Linked DNA regions of Homo sapiens: region 2 is linked to region 1. Evidence: promoter capture Hi-C in 16 types of primary human blood cells and fetal thymus (Javierre and others, 2016). All regions are on one chromosome and are shown on one strand. The core of a region is centred on a gene start or on the middle of the fragment in contact, and the rest is flanking DNA. Distances in the headings are between cores, read along the strand shown. Region 1 holds the start of LRRC73 (leucine rich repeat containing 73). Region 2 holds the start of LOC124900215 (a long non-coding RNA gene).

Region 1 (6,012 bases), core at 1,433-3,932:
AGTAGCCAGGCCTTGGTCGGCATCTGTCCTGGGGCCCCAAAGCCTGGAATGGGAGGAGTAGGCCAATGGACCATGTGTTTCCCAGGGTCCCCATGAGGGGCCAGAAAGCAGCCCAACCTGAATGATTTTCCTCTCCACCATCCTCCTTCCCAGGGCTATGGCCTCTTTGGGCATTGCATTGTCCTGTTCATCACCTATAATATCCACCTCCACGCCCTCTTCTACCTCTTCTGGCTGTTGGTGGGTGGACTGTCCACACTGCGCATGGTAAGCTGGGCAAGAGGCTTCCAGGGGTGGGCTGTCCTCCCAGGGAGTTGGGGAAGACAGCCTGGAGCTGTCCATCTCACAAAGAGCCCTAAATGGGAGGGAAGAGCCCAAAGATGGTTCTGCCCTGGGTGGGGGTGTCTTGTCCCCACTCCTCACTTTGGAGCCAGGCCCTTTGAGCTGTATTCTCATGGTCCTAGGTAGCAGTGTTGGTGTCTCGGACCGTGGGCCCCACACAGCGGCTGCTCCTCTGTGGCACCCTGGCTGCCCTACACATGCTCTTCCTGCTCTATCTGCATTTTGCCTACCACAAAGTGGTAGAGGGTAAGTGGCAGGAAGGTCTGGGTGGGGGAGAATGGGAAAGCAGCTGCCTAGAGCAAGAAGCTAGATATGATGGCTGGTGGGCTGGGCCCATCTGATCCTCGCTCACCTTCCATCTTCCTTCCAGGGATCCTGGACACACTGGAGGGCCCCAACATCCCGCCCATCCAGAGGGTCCCCAGAGACATCCCTGCCATGCTCCCTGCTGCTCGGCTTCCCACCACCGTCCTCAACGCCACAGCCAAAGCTGTTGCGGTGACCCTGCAGTCACACTGACCCCACCTGAAATTCTTGGCCAGTCCTCTTTCCCGCAGCTGCAGAGAGGAGGAAGACTATTAAAGGACAGTCCTGATGACATGTTTCGTAGATGGGGTTTGCAGCTGCCACTGAGCTGTAGCTGCGTAAGTACCTCCTTGATGCCTGTCGGCACTTCTGAAAGGCACAAGGCCAAGAACTCCTGGCCAGGACTGCAAGGCTCTGCAGCCAATGCAGAAAATGGGTCAGCTCCTTTGAGAACCCCTCCCCACCTACCCCTTCCTTCCTCTTTATCTCTCCCACATTGTCTTGCTAAATATAGACTTGGTAATTAAAATGTTGATTGAAGTCTGGAACTGCAGCGGCTGATCCAGTGGTCCTCCCTGTCATCCCGCTTCCTATATACTTTCCTACTCAGTCAACAGTGGTAATGTCATATGTTCCCTTCTTCATATCCTCACCCAGGCAAGATAAAGGTGGGACAGGCCAGACTACATAGAAGGCAGTGATTGAATATCACACCTGACCCATGAAGCGGCAGGGAGGCCTCAAGCACAAAAGCCATAAGCCTGATGGAACACTGCAGCCAGCTTGAGTCTGGGCTCAGCTGCTCTCTTGGGAAGCCAAGGAAGCAGTGACAATTGAACAAAACATCCCGACTTAAACCCCGTGTCAAAACAAGGATCTTCTGCACCTGGGCATTGTGTTGATAATTTTCCTGTGGAGCTCTTAATTGAAGCCAAATTTGGCTTTGCCTTGGTGGTACTGGGGCCAGCTCCTTTTAGTTTTTCTGTCTTTCCTCTTAAAACCAACCACCACTCCTAACATAGCACCATCCACCCCCACCACCTCTTTAATATGCTCCACTTAATAAGTTAATTCAGGTGGCTAAGAGTGGGAATAGGGCCTTTGACCTCCCTTCACTATATTGAATATTATATTTTATGTAAAATAATCATCTTAACACTAGTAAATCTGGGTCAGCAGCATCTATCCCTCCTAACAAAGGGACAAACAGAGGTGCCCTTCATTTGTCCTGCGTTACACAAGTGAGTCCCCCACCACCCTGGCCAGAGGACAAAGTTGAGACAGCACCGCCTGCACCGTGCAGTGTGGCTCAGCCGCCTTCACGTCCTCACCAGTGCTCCAGGGCCCTGGCCCTGGCACCTTCTTTGTATTGGCTGCCCCAGTCTCGCGGCACGGACACACCCTCAGATGTCAACAGTGCCCTGCGTACCTGAGAAGGTGTGGCACCAGGACCTTGCATCTATCTGAGGCTCCCCTGCCCTAGGGACCCTATGGGGTACCCTTCTCCCCAGCAGCTCAAGCTGGCTCTGCCCAGCCGTGGCCCCTGGGGCCTCCCTGATGAGGCCGCCATCTTGGCGAGGAGCAAGCGGGGAAGTCCCCATGGGCCGGGATCACCACGCACGCTGCGCCTCGAGTCACGGGGGCGGGAGCGAGGCGCGGCGCGGATGAAAGGGCCCTGGGGCCTTCCAAATAGGAGGGAACAGTGCCCTGGATTCCGGCGGGGGTATGGACCTTAGGAACGGGGAAGGATGGAAGAATGGGCAGAAGCAGCAGTAACCGTGCCCAACGCCATCTCCACGGGGCGTGCCTCCATTCCGCTCCCCGTCAGCCCTACCCACTCAGCCCTGCCGCCTGCCGCCTGCCAGTTGGCTGACCCCACTCCCAAGGGAAGAGCGGCCTATCGCTCCCAGCTCCTTGCCCCGAACCACCCAGTGTACGCGAACCTCGCGGGCCGGCGTGGCCTTGGCCGGGCAGGGGGCGGGGCGAGCGCCGGTGACGCGGCCGTTGCCATGGGAACTCGCCGCCCGCTCGCTCTCTGGAGCTGGAGCCGGAGCTGCCGCCAGCCGCCCGCCTCAGGCTCTCTCTGCCAGCCGTGCGGCCAGGCCCGCGGGGTGGTCGGGGGGAGCCGGGCGGCAGAGAAGGAGGGAGCGGGTACGGCCTCCTAGCCGAGACCGGTAAGCCGAAGCCCTTGAGCCGCTCGCTGCCGCTGCCGCCGCCGCCGCCGCGACCGCGAGGGACAAGGACAAGCGCCGAGCAGCGCCTGCCCAACCCCCGGAACGCGCACCCGCCCCAACGCCCAGACACGGACCGTGCGGGCCGCCCCCGCCCCAGCGCCGCCCCACTTCAGCCCGGCCCGCGCCCTGGACGCCTCCGCACCTCTGGCCGGCTCCGGCTCAGTCCCGGTAGCTCTTCTCCGCCCCCGCCGCAGCCTCCGCCGCAGCCGCAGCCTCCGCCACAGCCGCCGCCTCCACCCCCGGCCCCACTCCGCCCGCGACCCCTGCCGGGGCCCCGACCCCGGCCCTATCCCCGGCCCCGCCCGCGGCCCCACCAACCTCCGTTCCGGCCCCGTACCCGGAGGCCCAGCCGTGGGCACGATGCTGCCCAGCTCCATCCAGATTTCGGGGGAGCCGCTGTCCGGCGCCGAGGTGCGGGACATCTGCCGCGGCCTTCGCGACAACGCCGTGCGCCTGCTCTCACTGCGCGGCTGCCGCCTCTGCGACCGCGACTTTGGCCGCATCTGCCGGGCCCTGGCCGGGGCCACGTCCCTGGCGCAGCTCAACCTTAACCTGGGCGTCGTGTCCAGCCCCAGCCGCATCAAGCAGCTGGCTGAGGCTCTGCGGACCAACCGCTCCATCCAGTCCCTCTTGTGAGTGCGCCCCCTCGCAAGGGGGTCCCGGGCACTGCACCCTTCCATACACTCCCCTGGCACCTCCTGTTCCTCCACACTCCTTCCAGTACCATCCTACCTTCACATGCCTTATGCACATACACCGTGCCTCGGCCCATGCCTTCACAGCACCCTCCAAGCACATGCTTGGACTTTGCACGCGCGACCCTAGCCGTGTTGGGATACCCACCAGTTCCTGACATGAGGTGGGGGCCGTACCTCCCCACCTAATCATCTGCATTTACTTCACTGGGGCAGCTCCTTGGTTCCCAAGGGGGAATATCCCCGTGGGGACGAGAGCCCTGCCCACTGCAGAGTTCCGGTCCACCACCCACCCACCCCTTCTCTGCCCCTCCCTGTGCAATGTCCTGGATCCCTGCCCCAGAAAACAAACCGAATTCTCCCTCTATCTGTATTCCCTGAGAATCTAGAACTTTCCTTCTCCTTTTCCAGGCCTCTCAAGCGCTGTGACTGCCCTCCCCATACCTAGGGCTGACAGAAGTGAAAGTGCCCCTTTCCCATGTAGATAGTGCGGAGGACTGCAGTAACCCTGCTCTCTCACTCTCCTCCAGCCTGCATGGGAGCCCCCTGACAGATGCGGGGCTGGCCTTGCTGAACCCAGCCCTGGCCCTCCACCCTGCCCTCGTGGCTCTGGACCTGGGGGACTGCATGCTGGGTGATGAAGCCATCAACCTCATCTGTGGCCTCCTGCCCCCAGATGGGGCCAAATCTGGTGAGCAGGACCCTGTTGAGGGCTTGGGCTAGTGTGGCAGTGATGAAAATCGAAATGCAGAGGGAAGGGGGTGTGGCCCCAGAGCTCTGATGATGTGGGCGAGAACATCTTTCTACTCCTCTCAGGAAGGGGCAGGACGGGGGGCAGCATGGAGACTCAGGAATCCAGGCTGGGGCAGGCAGAGGAAGCATGGGCCTCCTTAATGGCTCTTGACCTCTATGGTGGGGGTAAGGTGGTGCCCAGCCACTAGGGACACCCCAGAGACACAGGGATTGTGGGGAAGGGCTGGAGGAGGGCTTAACCCTCCCTATTCTGGTTTCTTGCTATGATGCTGCCCAGGCTTGAAGGAGCTAACGCTGAGTGCCAACCCTGGCATCACCCCTAAGGGCTGGAGCCGCCTTGCCATTGCCGTGGCCCACAGCTCCCAGGTCCGCGTCCTCAATCTGGATTACAACCCCCTGGGTGAGGCTCAAGAATACCCCCTTGGGCTGTCACTGCCTCATGCCCTATCCAAGAGCCTGGGACCATCAGTTGACATGGTAACCCGTACACTGGGAGAGGGAAGAGAAACGGGAGCCCCCAGGGGTCAAGGAGATAGCTTTGTGGCGGACCAGGTGACCAACAAATAGATCAAAACATCAGTCACCACCCGTGGGCCTAACTTGCTTCGTGCCTTCACTCACCAATCACAATGATCCCTTCCTGACCACCACCAATTGTCCATGTTTCCTTGGCCAGGGATTAGTATCTAAAGTTGTTAAGGCAATGGGGAAGCTATCTGTAAGGATTAGCAGGCATGTGTATGAATGTGTGCACGTGTGTTGTCTCCCCAGGTGACCATGTGGCAGGAATGCTGGCTGTAGCTGTGGCCTCTAGTCGTACCCTAGAGGTCCTAGACTTGGAGGGCACAGGGCTCACCAACCAGTCAGCTCAGGTGGGAAGTCGTCATGTTTGGGCACGGCCAGGGGATGGGGTGGAGGTTAGTTTATGTGTCTGATGACATACCTAAGGCATGGCAGGTTGAGGTCTGAGGACCTGCCTTAACTGTGTTCATCCTTTTCCATATTCTTCCCCACTTCAGACCCTGCTGGACATGGTAGAAAATTACCCCACAGCTTTGCGGAGCCTGGTGTTGGCTGAGAACAGCATTAGCCCAGAGCTGCAGCAACAGATCTGTGACCTCCTCTCTGAGGGAGAGGAGGAGGAGGAAGTGGCAGGAGGGGCTGGCGACACCCAGGAATGGGAGAGAGGGCGGGAGCCTGCTGCCCACCAGAGAGGCAGCAGCTCCTGGATGTGCCCCAGCGGTAAGAACCCAGAGGGTTGATCAGAGCCAGGTCTGGAAGAGGCTCGGGACAAGGGAGAGTGGGTGTGCAGAACCTAGGCTCTCACCTATCTGTGGTCCCCATTGGAGGAAGGAATGGTGGTCTGAACACTTCTCTGCCCTTCCACAGATCCCAGCTCTCAGATGGTGCTAATGACGTCAGGACTAGGGGACAGTCTGTTGGCTGAGACCGAGATGTGACTCTCCACTGGGCCTCTGCACACCATTTCACTTATCTATGTCCCGAGCACCTTGCCCCAGATATCAGGGTCAGGCCCTGGGACTTGGGAGGGAACTGGGGTCAGGGGCTGCATGGGGGCTCTGGCAGCTCCTGGCAGTGTGGTGGGAAGGAAGCTCTGGAAGCTGTGACTGAGCAACAGCCTTGGGGGGCACTTGAACCCACGGCAATGCCTTTGAACTTGG
Region 2 (6,012 bases), core at 2,545-5,044, 530 kb after region 1:
TGGCAATTTGTCTTCTTCACAATCTAGTAGGCTATTGCTTTCTGTGGATGGGACAGTATCTAGTCCAACAGACTAAAAATTACAAATGGGTGGGGACCTCACCAGCTTTCCCCGAATTCCATTTCCCTTAGCCCCTGTTGTGGCTGATTTCTGTGTGCATTGTCTACGACTGAGCTACCCAAACCACCTCCGCATGCCCACTCCCCAAGGACAGGGCCTGGGTGGGGCACAAAACCCTGTCCAGCTCACTACTCCCAGGAGGCTCACTATCTAGTACACCATCACCAACCCTGTACTTAGAACCTCAGGCCCTGAAAGGTTAAGGGGACAACTCAGAATCAGAGCTGCCTGGCAAATACAGAACAGCCCCAGGAGAAAAAGTTTGATTGAAAAGGTCAGAGATGGCAGCCCAGTAACCCAGCCAATCAGAGGGCAAATGAAAGCAATATACCTCTGGGGTCATCGAGCAGGTGGCCAGAACACCAGGCCAGAGCCAACCCCCACCAAAAAGGGCCAGCCCCAGGAGAGGAGAAGCTGGGGGAGGCTGGAACTGGTATCCTAGCATCCTATGTGTGAGTCTGTACCTCAAAGGAACCACACCTCTGAGTCAGACCTCAGCAACAGCAGGAAACAGAGGGTAGAAAAAGGCACGGATGAGGAGCAGGGGAAGGCAGCACCGAGGTAGATGAGGAAGGTGAAAGAAGGCAACATTAAGAACTGGCCTGTGGGCCAGGCACGGTGGCTCACACCTGTAATCCCAGCACTTTGGGAGGCCGAGGGGGTCAGATCACCTGAGGTCAGGAGTTCAAGACCAGCCTGATCAACATGGAGAAACCCCGTCTCTACTAAAAATACAAAATTAGCCGGATGTGGTGGCGCATGCCTGTAATTCCAGCTACTTGGGAGGCTGAGGCAGGAGAATCGCTTGAAGCTAGAAGGCAGAGGTTGTGGTGAGCCGAGATCGCGCCATTGCACTCCAGCCTGGGCAACAAGAGCAAAATTCCATCTCAAAAAAAAAAAAAAAAAAAGAAATGGCCTGTGTCAGGACATCATGATAAAGACATGGGTGTTCAGGGGTGGCTGGCCTGCAGGCTAAGAAGGAACAATAATCTGACAGTGAGGACAAATTCCCAATTTGAAGATGGTGTAGCTTAGGAAAGGCAGAAATCCAGCACTGGTGCGAAAAGAAAAAAAAAAAGGAAAAATGCAAAGGTTATCCTAGGATTAAGAATAAGGGTGAGGAGCCTACTCAGATTAGGAAAGGTGACTGGTCTAGGATGCACTTGGGTGACAGTTAGGAGGGCTTTGATACAAAAGAGGCCTTTAAGTCAGGAGACCTGATATTGCAGCTGGGCCTCCAGCAGGCTGTGTGACCTTGGACAAGTCCCTTGCCCTGTCGGGGCCTCAGTCTCCTCATCTGTACCATTAGGGATTGCACTGCATGCGCTCAGAGGTCCCTTCCAGCACCAACGTTGTGAGGTTCCATCAACAGAAGGGCTCAGTCCTGCTTACAAGTTTGTGTGTGAAGGAAGAACTAGAGGGAGGGGCCTAGGCCAGATTTGGGTGGAGGAGAGAGAAAGCAGCGCTGTTCTAGGTCAGGGGCTTGGCATGGAAAGAGAAGGGGCCGTAGGGGACTGCGGGGCGGCTGTCCCAGGCGGGTAGGAAGAGGAGACAAGGGGCTGCTCAGGGCGGGGCGAGGGGGCAATTCTGGAGGAAGGTGCAGTTTCAGATGAGGGGCTGCCCAAACCGAAGGGGGATCGGGGCCAGGGGTGATGGGGGGGACAGAAAAAGCAGGACAGTGACCTGGGAATGGGGCAGATCTGGAAGAAGGAGGTTACCCTGGGCCGGGGGTAAGAGAAGGGAAGAAGGGAGGGAGGTGTATGTGGGGGGAGTCTCTCCGGGGCAAGGTGGGGGAGCTGTCCTAGCTGCGGCACAAGCTGGGGGTGCTGCCAGCCGCGGGGGCGGAGGGCTGGCCCCAGGAGTCCTGCGGGGGCTGGACGGGAGGGTCAGTCTGGGGCTGTCCCGGGCCTGGCTCCGGCCCCTCCCAGAGCTCCGCGCAGGCTCCAAGGCGGCGGTGGGGGAAAAAGGGCCACGCTCACCTTCTCCTTTTTCAGTTTATAGGGCATCTCGGCCCGTCCGGACCCGGCCCGTCTCCTGCGGCCCCGCTCCGGCTCCGGCTTTGCTCGGCCGCACTCGGCCCGCTCGGCGTCTCTTCGCCACCGCCTGCGCGCTGCGCCCGGGTCGAGCGGTGCCTGCGCCTCCAATTGGCCCGAACTCCTACAAAACTGCCTGACAACCAGGCGCCGCCTCCTCGGATTGGTCATTGGAGCCAAGCTGCTTCCTTTTTTTCTTATTGGAAAGAAATAGTACAAACCGCCAGGGTTCGGCTTCCAGAATTGGCTGAAGTGGGTGGTCCCGCCCTAAAGTGGGTCGAGCTTAGAGAAGGAGGCGGGGATAAGGGGAAACCCAAGCTTGGCTAGGAGGGCTGCACTCCAGCGTCTGCTGTGCGTCGGCCTCGGCCATTCTTCGCGGCGCTTGGAGCCCTGCTCTTTCCTTCTAAAGGCTCTCACACTTTGCCCGCTCTGCTACCCTGTCCAGTCGGAATTGGAGGAAGGAAGCCCTAATACGGAGGGCACCTTTCTTCACTGGGGTAAAGTAGCCCTAATTGCAGATGCAAAATTGATGGAGGGAGCTCCCAAGGACCTTCCAAGACACCCGCCTCCCTAGACAGGGGTTGCAGAGGAGCAAAGGGGAAGCCTGGCAGGGCTAGGACCTGGGCGAAATGAGTGGAGAATCCCTGGCTTGGTGCAACTTTAGGAAGAGGGTCCCCGTTGCTACTGCAAGTGTACTGGGATTGGGGAACCAGCTAGATTTGAGCAGTTGGGAACGCAGTGGAAAAGCAACTTCATTGTTGACTGTCTCAGGAAATCCATCCCTTACTTGCCACCCTGCTCAAGTCCGTGTTCTAATGGGTAAGACTCAGTTTATGCCCACAAAGAGTTCGCAGTCTGGTGAATCACAGATGTGTATAAACAAAGGATTAAGAGAGAATGTAAACCAGGCAGGCACGGTGTCTCACGCCTGTAATCCCAACACTTTGGGAGGCTGAGGCAGGAGGATCACCTGAGGTCAGAGGTTCGAGACCAGCCTGGCCAACATGGCGAAACCCCGTCTCTATTAAAAATACAAAAATTAGCTGGGTGTGGTGGTGCACGCCTGTAATCCCAGCTACTCGGGAGGCTGAGGCAGGAGAATCACTTGAACCCGGGAGACGGAGGTTGCAGTGAGCCGAGATCACACCACTGCACTCCAGCCTGGGCGACAGAGCAAGACTCTGTCTCAAAACAGCAACAATGACGACAAAAAGAATAAACCTGTGGCCAGGCTCGGTGGCTCACGCCTGTAGTCCCAACACTTTGGGAGACCAAAGTGGGCAGATCACGAGGTCAGGAGTTTGAGACCAGCCTGACCATAGTGGTGAAACCCCATTTCTACTAAAAATACAAAAATTAGACAGGGTGCGGTGGCTCACGCCTGTAATCCCAGCACTTTGGGAGGCCGAGGTGGGCGGATCACGAGTCAAGAGATCGAGGCCATCCCGGCCAACATGGTGAAACCATGCCTCTATGAAAAATACAAAAATTAGCGGGGCGTGGTGGCGCGCGCCTGTAGTCCCAGCTACTCGGGAGACTGAAGCAGGAGAATCACTTGAACCCGGTAGGAGGCTGAGGCAGGAGAATTACTTGACCCCGGTAGGTGGAGGTTGCAGTGAGCCGAGATCATGCCACTGCGCTCCAGCCTGGGCGACAGAGCAAGACTCCGTCTACAAAAAAAAAAGAAGAAACCTGTGATGCAAAGGCATGAGAATGATACAATGGAGGCCGGGCGCGGTGGCTCACGCCCGTAATCCCAGCACTTTAGGAGGCCGAGGCGGGCGGATCACGAGGTCAGGAGATCGAGACCATCCTGGATAACACGATGAAACCCCGTCTCTACTAAAATAATACAAAAAAATAGCCGGGCGTGGTGGCAGGCGCCTGTAGTCCCAGCTACCCGGGAGGCTGAGGCAGGAGAATGGCGTGAACCCGGGAGGCAGAGGTTGCAGTGAGCCTAGATCATGCCACTGCACTCCAGCCTGGGCGACAGAGCAAGACTCCGTCTCAAAAAAAAAAAAAAATACTACACATTGGGTACAGTATACACTGCTTGGGTGATGGCTGCATCAAAATCTCATAAATCACCACTAAAGAACTTATTCATGTACAAAAAATAAATTTTTAAAATTCTATATAAAATAAAATATTTAGTCTTAAAAAAAAAAAAGGTCAGGCGCAGTGGCTCACGCCTGTAATCCCAGCACTTTGGGAGACTGAGGAGGGCGGATCACCTGAGGTCAGGAGTTCAGGACCAGCCTGGCCAACATGGCAAAACCCCGTCTCTACAAAAATACAAAAATTAGCCAGGCATGACGGTGGGTGCCTGTAATCCCAGCTACTCAGGAGGCTGAGGCAGGATAATCCATTGAACCCGGGAGGTGGAGTTTGCAGTGAGCCGAGATCGCACCATTGCATTCCAGCCTGGGCGACAGGGCAAGACTCCATCTGAAAAAAAAAAAAAAAAACACAAAACCTGTGTCCCTTACCCAGGTACCCAGGAGAGCAATGTTACAAGACAGTGGCCGTGGGGATGGAGAAGAGAGGATGGAGCATGAAAATGTGTAGAATCAACAGGATATGGTGATTCATTGTATTGTGGGGGGGACGGTAACGGAAAGGGAAGAGTTGAGGATGATTTCTGGAAGTGATCAGAGTTGTAGGAGGACAACTGGTGTCATAATGGCAAAGGAAATAAAAGACAATTGGTCAGTAGTGTCAGAGAAAGAACAGCATCATCTTGATTCTGCAATTAGAAGATTATGGGTGATTTTTTCAGAGAGTGGAAGACCGTTTTTAGTGAGTGGAAGAGTGAGCATCAAGAGGTGAGGAAGTGAAGATGGCAAATGTAGGGTCCTGGCGATCTTACAGAAGTAGTATTTGGCTTTCGGTGACTAATGACGATTTCAGGGTAACACAAAGTGGACTACATGCCCGCTGTTACCTGCTGGGAGAAAAGCTTGGGAGAAAAGGACATTTATTTGTGGGTGGGTATTTGTGTCTGTATGAGTGCTGATCCAGGCAAGATAACTGATGTTTTTACCCATCTCCAAGGCCTCAAGGAGCACTATAGTCCTGAGGCCTAGAGCTTGCCTGCTACTGAGGAAAGCAGGCATATCCTCTTTAGGCCCATGTACCATCTATCTAGCCCTTGGTTCCTCTGGGACATAGGGGACCAAGAAACATATAGTAGCACTACCAAATGGGAACTTTCATCCATGTGAATCTAGGTACCTAGAACATTCTTTATTTAGTTTTTTTTTCTTTTAATTTTATATATTTTAAGAGACAAGGTCTTGCTCTGTCACCCACTTGGAGTGCAGTGGCACAATCATAGCCTCAAATTCCTGGGTTCAAGTGATCCTTCTGCCTCAGCCTCCCCATAGCTGGGATTATAGACACAAGCCATGGTTCCTGGTTAGTACATTCTTGCATGCTATTTTATTTATTTTTTTCTATTATTTATTTTTTTGAGACGGAATCTCACTCTGTCACCCAGGCTGGAGTGCAGTGGCGCAGTCTCGGCTCACTGCAAGCTCTGTCTCCCGGCTTCACGCCATTCTCCTGCCTCAGCCTCCCGAGTAGCTGGGACTACAGGCACACACCACCATACCCAGCTAATTTTTGTATTTTTAGTAGAGACGGGGTTTCACCATGTTGGCCAGGCTGGTCTCAAACTCCTGGCCTCAAGCAGTCCACCCACTTGGCCTCCCAAAGTGCTGGGATTACAGCCATGAGCCACTGCGCCCAGCCCCTTATAATATGCAAATCTAATAGTTTTCATATATTTGTCTTTCAAATTTTCAGGAATGTATAATGTACAAAATAGAAGACTGCCTCAAGAAGAAAGGAGAGATGG

The links. The method cuts DNA at HindIII sites, captures the fragments that hold promoters and counts their contacts. A CHiCAGO score of 5 or more calls a contact.
Region 2: a contact is called between a fragment that was not itself captured here and the fragment with the promoter of LRRC73 in region 1, in 2 of 17 cell types (total B cells and naive B cells). The highest score is 5.5, in total B cells.

What each region holds. Positions count from the first base shown.
Region 1 is chr6:43,507,016-43,513,027 of GRCh38, reverse strand. LRRC73 (leucine rich repeat containing 73) reads left to right here and starts at 2,682. Exons shown (of 6, transcript NM_001012974.4): 1 at 2,682-3,514; 2 at 4,108-4,268; 3 at 4,608-4,730; 4 at 5,102-5,202; 5 at 5,350-5,572; 6 at 5,720-6,012. The coding sequence starts at 3,243. The coding sequence ends at 5,790. It overlaps YIPF3 (Yip1 domain family member 3), which reads left to right. Exons shown (of 9, transcript NM_015388.4): 7 at 154-267; 8 at 465-588; 9 at 713-1,196. The coding sequence ends at 861. RefSeq lists silencers at 2,525-2,814, 2,835-3,104. The HindIII fragment of the contact is 9,076 bases long and covers 1-6,012 here.
Region 2 is chr6:42,980,792-42,986,803 of GRCh38, reverse strand. LOC124900215 (a long non-coding RNA gene) reads left to right here and starts at 2,490. Exons shown (of 2, transcript XR_007059580.1): 1 at 2,490-2,972; 2 at 5,961-6,012. It overlaps PPP2R5D (protein phosphatase 2 regulatory subunit B'delta), which reads right to left and starts at 2,234. Exons shown (of 16, transcript NM_006245.4): 1 at 2,100-2,234. The coding sequence starts at 2,126. RefSeq lists silencers at 1,876-2,025, 2,116-2,185, 5,364-5,582 and an enhancer at 2,336-2,455. The HindIII fragment of the contact is 2,641 bases long and covers 2,474-5,114 here.